Regions from separate parts of the Homo sapiens genome. Here region 1 is linked to region 2. Evidence: promoter capture Hi-C in human tissues and cell types (Jung and others, 2019). All regions are on one chromosome and are shown on one strand. Each heading gives the region's core, a stretch centred on a gene start or on the middle of the fragment in contact. The rest is flanking DNA. Distances are from core to core; before and after follow the strand shown.

Region 1 (4,790 bases), core at 1,536-4,035, 280 kb before region 2:
AGACATTCATCCTTCAAGGAAAACTCTTCCTTACAATATAATACCAACAAATATAGAAAAGAATTAGAAAAAAAAATCACCATTTTGCAGCCATAAGAATAAAATGGATTCAGGCAAGAATCATCAATTGATGGTAAATACAAAATGTCATATTTTATGAGGAACGAGATATTTTATATAATGTCAAAGTATCTCTCCCTCAAATTATTTATGAATTATAAGGATAACCAGGTTGATATAATTTAAAAAGCACCCTAATAAGTAATTAACATTAATAACACCAGCAAGGGGAAAATGCCATGTACCTCCAGACGTGATACCATGACACTATTACTTATGCAGTATTCCAGTTAAAAATGCATAACCATGAAGAAACATTGGAGAAACCCAAATTGAGAACATTCTATAAAATAACTAGCTTATATTATTTTAAAATGTTAATGTTGTGAAAGACAAGGACTGAGGACTTTTTCCAGATTAAGAGACTAAATACAATACGTGATCCTAGACTAAATCTTGAACTACAGAAAAATGCCATAAAGGACATTACTGAAACAACAGATATAATTTGAGTGTGAGGTGTAGATTCAGAATATATGCTTAATATTTACTAAACTAGAAGAGCTCTCATTCCAAGAATCCACACACTCCCACCACATCTGAGGATATGCCCTTATACAATACACCTGAGAAGAGAAACTGACAGAACTAAATGATTAATATGTGCTAATAACAGTGTCTAGAGCACTAAAGATAAAAATGAACAAATTAGGCCAGGCGCGGTGACTCACGCCTGTAATCCCAGCACTCTGGGAGGCAGAGGCGGGCGCATCATGAGGTCAGGAGATCAAGACCATCCTGGCTAACACGGTGAAACCCCGTCTCTACTAAAAAATACAAAAAATTAGCCAGGCATAGTGGTGGATGCCTGTAGTCCCAGCTACTCGGGAGGCTGAGGCAGGAGAATGGCGTGAACCTGGGAGGCGGAGCTTGCAGTGAGCCAAGATCATGCCACCGTACTCCAGCCTGGGCGACAAAGTGAGACTCCGTCTCAAAAAAAAAAAAAAAAAAATTAACAAATTAAAACACTGGAAAGGTTTAGAGAAACCATCATCACTCACCTTACTTTAGGGACAAATACATGAATTTGGGTCCTTGTGATTTTTGATAAAGATTTCAAGTTTCTATTATTGAACATAAAACTAGATTCCAAAGGAAATAACTAGAAGAGTTACCGATAAAAAATTTAGATTCTTAATTTTTACACAAAATATCTAAAAACACACATTATACTGTCTTTTGAATTTTAATGACACTAATAGCTTTATTTAACAAACACTGAGTGACTACTATGTGCAAAGCACTATGCTAGGTGCATGAAAGATACAAAGATGAAAAAAGACACAGTCCCTGCCCACAAGGAGCGTATAATCTAGTGAGGGAGACAAATACACAAATAACTAGAATACAAGGCAGTAAACAAGAGTGGGCAAGTGCTGAGTGTGGCCTGAGTGTGATACTAACTAGCCTCAAGGTTCCAATTTGAAACACGATGAAATAGTGTTGTCTGCTTCGAAAATCCCATCCCAAGTTTGGCATAATGGAAGTTAAATGGCCCTACCCAAACAGGTGGAAATAACAGAGTAGGCCAGGTGGAGGCGCTGTTTGAAAGTACTATCACACCTACATACATGGTGCTGATATAAGTACGTAGGTACAGCTAAAAAAGAACTTATATATATATATATATCATATATATATATATCATCTGTCCTTTGGTTAATGGCTATAGCTACTGTTTTAAACAATATACTTTTATATAAAAAGGAATTTGTATAATCCCAGAAAAATCAATTTAAGGATTAATATTAATTCAAGAAAGAATCCTGCCATAGGCAATTTTATTTACTAATTGATTAAGTCTTTTCTCTAAATATCTATAAAGCTCTGTAGCAATTAAACAGTTAGACATCTAAGTATTGCTGAGTAGAAACCTCTTATGTTCAGCCTTCTGAAATAAATGGTCACATACCTGATATATAGCACTATTCTAACAGCAACAAGAAGGCCTTAAAGAGATTTTAAGAAAAATAATTTTTAATGCTTCAATGCAAATGGAGTACACGCTGATTAAATACAACTCAATGTTCTTTGAAAACATCTCAATGACAGCGTTTGATACCAGTTAAGGCCAGCAAAATTGTACTGAGGAAAATATTATTACATGTACTGTCTTTCATTGGTTTCATGTATCATTGCTTATGACTATGGCAACCAAATCTTTTCTTTGACAACTGCATTTATGGGAACTGATGAGCTTTGATTTATGAGCTTTGATTTGCTTTTAGTTCATAGGCCAATAACAAGTGCTGACCACCTCCTCTTGGTAGTGCTGTCTGAAATAACTGGCAAAGTAGAAGCACATTTCCTGGCTCCTTTTCCCACTTCCTGAATTGGAGGGTTCACCACCTTAGCCTGTTTCCTTTCGTGTGTCACTGTGGTCCTGGGTCCTCTGCTGCTTTCTCTCAAGGAAACGAGCCCGTGCATCAGATATGGATTTGTCATCATTTCTTCTTTGCATTTTCTTTAAGACGTCTTTCGATATTCCATCTGAAAACATTACAAATTAATCCAATAAAACTTAGCTTTGAGATTCAGTACTAGAAATGTTAAGAGAAAGAGAAGCCCTGATTTTTCAGTGTTAACAAAGTAAAAACAATAAAGAGAAAAATTAAATTTTGCCCTTTCAAAAGCAATGTAGTCTATGGTTACAAAATTAAGAGCACCAAGGCCAATGAGTCAGAAAAACTGACCCTAATTCAAGCATGTGGCAGTGTTATTACACTGTAATAGAACACCTAGTGGCTAAGATTTCTTTTCTTTTTTTTTTTTTTTTTGAGACGGAGTCTCACTCTGTCGCCCAGGCTGGAGTGCAGTGGCGCAATCTCGGCTCACTGCAAGCTCTGCCTCCTGGGTTCACGCCATTCTCCTGCCTCAGCCTCCCGAGTAGCTGGGACTACAGGCGCCCGCCACCACACCCAGCTAGTTTTTTGTATATTTAGTAGAGACGGGGTTTCACCGTGTTAGCCAGGATGGTCTCGATCTCCTGACCTCGTGATCCGCCCGCCTTGGTCTCCCAAAGTGCTGGGATTACAGGCGTGAGCCACCATGCCTGGCCTCCCTAGTGGCTAACATTTCTAAAGATTTTTCTATGATTTATTCGGCAAAACTCTTCACCATTCCATTTTGCAGTGATGTCAAATAAAGAAAATACAATATGCTTCATCATTCAGCCTCAAAAAGCTTTACTAAGAAGTTTTCTGTGTATGTGAGCTGAAAAACTTTCTGTCCTATTTCAGTACCACAACTATTTATGCCTCCCAACCAGGGTCCTAATTATTTCATAGAAAAAGCCCCTTGGATATACAAACTTAGCCAGGCGTGGTGGTGCATGCCTGTAATCCAGCTACTCAGGAGGCTGAGGCAGGAGAATAGCTTGAACCGGGAGGCAGAGGCTGCAGTGAGCCAAAATCACACCATTACACTCCAGCCTGGGCAATAAGAGCAAAACTCCGTCTCAAAGAAGAAAGAAAAAGAAAGAAAGAAAGAAAAAGCCCCTTGGAAACAAAGGGGATTCTGAGTTAATAATGCATAAATCATCACTTTTTTTTTTTTAGAGATAGTGTCTCACTCTGTCACCCCCAGGCTGGAGTGCACTGGTGAAATCACAGTTCACTGCAGCCTCAAACTCCTGGGTTCAAGCGATCCTCCTGCATCAGCCTCCCAAGTCACTGGGACTACAGGTGCACACCAACATGCCTGGCTAATTTTTATTTTTATTTTGCTAGAGATGGGATCTCACCACATTGCCCAGGTGGGTCACAACATTTTTATAAACAAAAATAGTGAAGTACTACTGGGAAGCAGTATGGCATAGTGGTTAAGAGTAGAACAAATGATTTACTCACCCTTTAGCTGCTTTACATTTTCCTTATTTGTCCATCTCCTTCTTGCATCTTCTCTCACTTCACGTCGGGCCACACTGCTCAAATCATGTGCATTAAATTCATGCAACTTGGGTAACAAGTCTCTTACCCATTCATAACGGATTGGGCATACAATTCTTGCGTAGACTTTGGTGGTAACCAATACCTCATGAAAAATGATCCATTCAAGTTTGGTTTCCTGTTCATGAAGCTATACAAAACATTTCTTTTAATGATGGTAACTCAATAACCTGCCCTATTCCACATTAAACCAACCAAATAGTCCAAATCCTTCTCAATTAATTCCTATCTTCTTCAAACAGGAGGCACAGGCCAACCAATACCCTTATAGATCTATGTAATATAGATATATGTAAATTTAACTCCAAAGTGAAAAGTAGAAGACATTTGTATATTACTTATTTCTACAACTTTACAAATTTCTTCCCTTTATTAAAAATGAAGTACTTACTGCTGAGGAAGGATGAATGTGAACTGGGCTTCCACGACCATCCATTGTGCAAAACGTTCTCCCAACAGATCTATAAACAGAAAAACAAAATGATAAAGACTACAACAGTAAAGCAATGAAGTAAATGGAGCATTACATTCAGCAATGAACAATTACAATATGTTCTACTACAAACAGCATTATAAGCAGAGGTTTACATTTATTCAACTGTCACTACAAGCTCTCTACCAATTCATCTTAAATTAATTATACAGGTTAAACAGTCACTACAATTAGGTATAAGTCACTACAATTAGGTATAAGGAATCAGTACAAATATTAACAATAATCTA
Region 2 (5,163 bases), core at 919-3,418:
TCCTGTGGCCCACTGAAAATAAACATCTGCGGAGTAGCCTGACAAACTATTTTTAAACACTACCCAGGTCATCTTTATACACATTTAAGTTTGAGGACCTCTGCCTTAAAGCGATGCTTCTCAAACTATGGGTCAGGACCTGCTTGGTCAGGAAATCAAATTAATGGGTCATAACCAGCAGTTGATTTTTTTAAATGAAGTAGAAAAAAAAACCTTTAAAACAGAGCACACTGCAGGGAGTAAGGGTAATTATTGTTCTCTGAAACTTATTTCAGTTACAGACCTGTATGCAGTGCAGGTCCCACTCAAAGTCTGAAAACCATGCTCCTAGAGGGAAGAAGGAAAACAGTTTTCTCGCGCATGGTGTTTATTTTCCATTTTCCACCCCTAACTCTAAGCTTCTTGATTTTGGTTCAAGCACAGAAATATCAAGACAGATCCAAGAAATGCTGTCATTGAATGCTAACCTGCGGCGGCAAAGCCCAACTGAGGAAGCGGATGAGGCTCCCACTGCACTCCTGCCTGAGATCCTATCATGGAGCTGGGGACAGGGGATGGTGCCAAGGGGGAAGTCTGCACAGCTCTCCCCAGGCTGGGCCTGTTTCTGGGGAAAAGAACTTGCAGCCACTCAAAACACAGTTTAGAAGAATGAAAATGTTCCTCACCGGAGGCAAGACTCAGCCATTCATAGGCCCTGTGGCCCCCAGAGGCAGGAAAGCACGGGGGAGCAATAACCATGTGAAATCAAGTCCCACCCCAGAGCCAGTGAGGCGGTTTACTGAACTTCTTGCATCTTTAATGCTCTGTGAGGCACAGGGAAGCTGACCGCTACCCTTCTTGCCCAATGCTTTGGAACAAGGAAGAACAAGGAAGGAAGGGCAGGGAGGAAAAGACAGCTGTCTCGTTAGCCTTCAGATTCACCAAAGGCAAGGACTCACTCAAGAGCCTCCCAAGTTGCAAGGACAGCAAATCAGCAAGGAGGCCAGAAAGCAAAAACCCCAGCAAAGCTTCGGAGCAGTTCTCTGGGGCCTTTCACAGCGGCGGGACTGGGGGGCGGGCGAGGGTGCAGCTCCGCTCCAAGCGGAGGAAAACAAGACACTCGCTCACCTGGCTTTTTAAACTCTCGCAGCTAAGACTGAAGGCAGAGGTAGCAATCTTCCGGACAAGAAGTCCAGAAGAACAGGTGTCCCCCACCCCCGCACGCCCCCAAGACCGGAGAAAAGCCCACCACTCCGGGAAAGACACCAGAGGAGGTCGGCGGCCAAGCAGGGTGAACTGGAAGTGGCGAAAGGTCGGGGCCGCCCCTAAGCGCCAGCTCCGGGGAGGCGCTCGCGGCAGAGGCTCCCGCGTTCCGTCGGGCAGGACCTCGCGCCCACCCCCTTGGCAAGGACACCGGGGAGGCGCCGAGACGCGGCCAGGGAGGAACTCGGCTGCGGTTACCTCGACCCGGGTCGGGGCAGACGACGCGCTCCGAGAAATTTCGAGGGCGCCCAGTCCCACAGTGGAAGGCCCCCAGGGCGGCGCCCCTGGACCTAAGTGTCCCCAGGACTCTCCGAGGGAAACGCGGCGTCACGAGAGGACGGAGGGCGTCCCCAGCCCCACCCGGACCCCATGGAGTCCGAACCCATGGGGACGACGCGGAGGAGGAAGCGGCGATTCCAGCTCCGCACCCCCGCCCCAAACCTGGCCCCGCAGACTCGCCCAGCCCCTGGCGCGCGTCTCCCGCCCCGGCCGGGGGTCCCGCGCCCTTGGGCTCCCTCCGCGAGCGGCCGCGGGCCCGGCAGTGTTTGTAAACAAACCGGTCACGTGGCCCGGCGGCCGCTCCCCGTCCCCGGCGCCCACGGGGACCCCACGCGGAACCGAGGGCGCCGCACCCCCAACCCCGCGCAGGCCCGGCCGGGGGAGTCCGGAGGCCGGGGCCGGGGACCCAGAGCCCGAGCTGACAGCGCGCCCCACGCCCACGCGCGCCCGGCCCGCGCCGCACTCCGGTGCACTTACCCGGCGACAGGCGGCCCTGTCCGGCCAGCGTGGGGCTTGGCTCCGCTGGGGTGCGCAGCGGCGAAGCGCGGCCCGGCTGGGGCTCGGGCTCCCGGCACGCTCTTAAAGCCACAGTCTCCGCCACCGCCGCGGCCGCCACTCCGCATCCCTCCGGGTCCGGGCCGGGGGCTACCCCGTGATGGACGCGCCCCCGCACCTATCCCCTCGGCTCAGCACATAGCAACACGCCGCGGGTTGGCCGGGCGCAGCCGCAGCCCATCCGCGCAGAGCCAATCATCAGAGGACGGAACTCCGCCCCCCGCTTCCCCGACCGCCCACTCCCCCACCCCTCGGCCCGGCCCAGCCTGGGCTAGGGGAGAGCGGCTGGTTAGGGTCCCGCCCGTCCCGGCAACTTGCCGGAGGGCAGGGACCCAGAGTGCCAAAGCTGGGTGGGCTCTCAGCGCCTAGGAGGAGGCCGTTTATTTGAGTTTGGGGTTTGTCCCCAGGGCAGGGCTGGGATTCCCAGAACCTGGGTTGTATTTTGGGGCGGGGGGATTTGCAGTGCATCTCCCTGGAGGCTCAAGATAGTCATTCCTTTCTTACGTTTTAAACCTCGCCCTAAGCCATAGCCTAAGTTACCAGAAGTGGCCCTCAGGCCCCGGGTAATTGAATTTAAAATGATAGGGGGGAGGGGGGAGGGATAGCATTAGGAGATACACCTAATGCTAAATGACGAGTTAATGGGTGCAGCACACCAACATGGCACATGTATACATATGTAACAAACCTGCACATTGTGCACATGTACCCTAAAACTTAAAGTATAATAATAATAAAATTAAAAGAAAATGATAGTGCTAGTTGCACCCAGCCCACCCATGCCTTGCTCAGAAGCCAGGCATTTCCCCTCTTCTCTCTGCCCTGCTAGTAATTTCGGCGAATTAAAAGTACGAAAGGGGCTTAGTGGAATTGAAGACCGCCCCATTGCTGCTAATTTTCCATGACTTTCAGAGGCAGATGACGGTAATTAGAGTGGGATGGTCCGAGTGACCAGAGGGGAGGAGTCCACGTTCTGGGTCACCGGGGTGGTGCTTTTCAAGGAAGAGCAGGTTAAAAAATAACCTCGTGGCAGTCAGGAAACCAGGGAGGCACCAGGTGGGTGGAGTGGGGCAGTTTCCCAGCAGGAAAACAGGACAGTTTGATAAAGAATGTTGGCACGGACAAGGTGAACAAAGCAGGTCCTGCCTTTCGCTCAAGACACTGGGGTTCCGCAGTTCCTCTGGGAACTCTTCCTCCAAGGAAACTAGTGTTTTACTGTGCAGCCATCAGGATGTGAGGTGCTGCAGGAGGTGCAGCTGACTCTCCGCCTTCCACACACTGGTTTGCACGTACACCCAGAATGCTGGCTCACCTGCATCTCCACCCAGCTGTTTTTAAAATATGCTTGGTCAACCAAATTGTATTCAGTTAATATCTATTGCATGTGAATCCAGTCACCAAGGTTAGTAAAAACAACAAAACACCCCAAATACCTCAGTATTGTGGGGCTGACATATCAGCCTCAGATTTGCAGTTTCAGTGTAAACAAAGGCTATGTCCTGGTTCACAACTGACTAGTTTGGAGAGTCTAAAACGGGGGGGGGGGGGGAATGCTTTCAGATGAGAGGAATCACAAACAAGAACTGTTTAGCATTTAATCCTTAATCTAAGATGTGATGGATTCTTTAGATTAGTAAGAGCTTGCCGTCTCGCCCTGATCTGCTTCTTGAGCAAGTTTCTTTGTCTCTCCAGGCCTAGGTTTCCACAGTTTAAAACAAGGAGGGTTGAAATAGGATGATCTCAAGTCCCTTCCAGCTCTGAAATTCTAAGTAGGGCCAGAAAGTCATGTTTGTTACAACGTTTCCGCAATATTGTGTGAGCGAATATTTGTGTTGCCACATCACCACTTCCTAACAGTAGATGCTGAATTAGTTTAACACCCTAGGATATTGGTATGTTATGTAACAAGACTGGTGGCTACTGTTTCTGTTTAAATAAAAGATAACGTTAGCTAAAGAAGACTAGCCTGATACAGTGGTTTCAGAGGGAGCTCTGAGGACCCCTTCAGGCCTGCTGTGTGTATGCAGGGGACTGGAAGAGGCCCCAGACCTTAGGGTCAGGAGACAATAAAACCAGCCAGCCGGCCAATAACAAAAAAAGTGTTAAGCCTGATCATGCCTCCTCCCAGTCAAAAAGAGCCAAGCATTTTGAGCTGGTAAAGGAGAAGGGAGAGGTGAAACAATGAAGTAAGTGAAACAAAGTAATAGATGCAACTTCTCTGAACCCAGAGGGGGCACTTGAATTGTCCCTCAATACATTTTCTCAGTGCCTACTATGAGCAGAATTCCCTGCTTGACTTGGATGATAGTATTCTGAAGAATCTACTGAGAGGAGAGACGCTGAGGCCAATGGAGAGTTGGTGAAATGAGACAGATGTTTATCCTGGAAAGCAAAAAGAGATGGAGAGAGAGAGAGAAATAAACAGATCTGTTCAGAGTCAGCCAAGGCTTAAACAAACAAACAAACAAAAACCCTTGCTGGTAAAAGTTTGAGAGATTCCTGGCCTCACAGATTATCAGCCTGCCTTTGTCAATGGAACAGTACCTCTGTCTCCTCTGTGTGAAGCCAAATTCATTCATTCCCAGAGCCTTCACGGAATTATTTTCCAGCAACCTCTCACTAATCCCATCTTCCCGCTGTTGCCATATTGGTGCTACTGCTGCTGTGAACAGAGTCACTTTTATGTGTTCACCTTACTTAACCTCTCAACCTTCACATTATTAATTTGAAATAATTAATTACATCTTCCTTCCCCTCACCCGCCATCCCCCAGTTCATCAACAGGTCCTGTCAGTTTCACTTCACAAATATGTATTTGCTGTGAACACATCTGCCTTTGCTGCTGCACCCTGGTTGGAGCCACCAACATCTCTTGCCTAGAATAAGCAGCAGCTTCCCAACTGATCTCCCTGCTTCCAGCCCATTCTCTGTGCAGCAGCCAGATGGTACTTCTAAACAAACTCCTTCTGGTGGCCCACAGGCCCTAGTAACCAGGCCTGCCAACCTCTCTGGTCTTCCACCATCTGTCCTTTGCTCAAACTGCTGCAGTCAAGCTGGCCTTTTTTCTGTTCCTCGTCCTGTTGTAGG

The links. Contacts are between HindIII fragments. The study calls those that stand out against the background at their distance.
Region 1: a contact is called between a fragment that was not itself captured here and the fragment with the promoter of YPEL2 in region 2, in 1 of the 25 tissues and cell types used here (spleen).

What each region holds. Positions count from the first base shown.
Region 1 is chr17:59,604,853-59,609,642 of GRCh38, reverse strand. It overlaps DHX40 (DEAH-box helicase 40), which reads right to left. Exons shown (of 18, transcript NM_024612.5): 16 at 4,459-4,528; 17 at 3,969-4,197; 18 at 1,298-2,610. The coding sequence ends at 2,471. Among named protein-coding and RNA genes, the nearest start is that of CLTC, 13 kb to the left of the region's middle. The HindIII fragment of the contact is 7,902 bases long and covers 1-4,790 here.
Region 2 is chr17:59,328,660-59,333,822 of GRCh38, reverse strand. It overlaps YPEL2 (yippee like 2), which reads right to left and starts at 2,168. Exons shown (of 5, transcript NM_001005404.4): 1 at 1,999-2,168. RefSeq lists an enhancer at 1,111-1,672 and a silencer at 1,883-2,402. The HindIII fragment of the contact is 13,001 bases long and covers 704-5,163 here.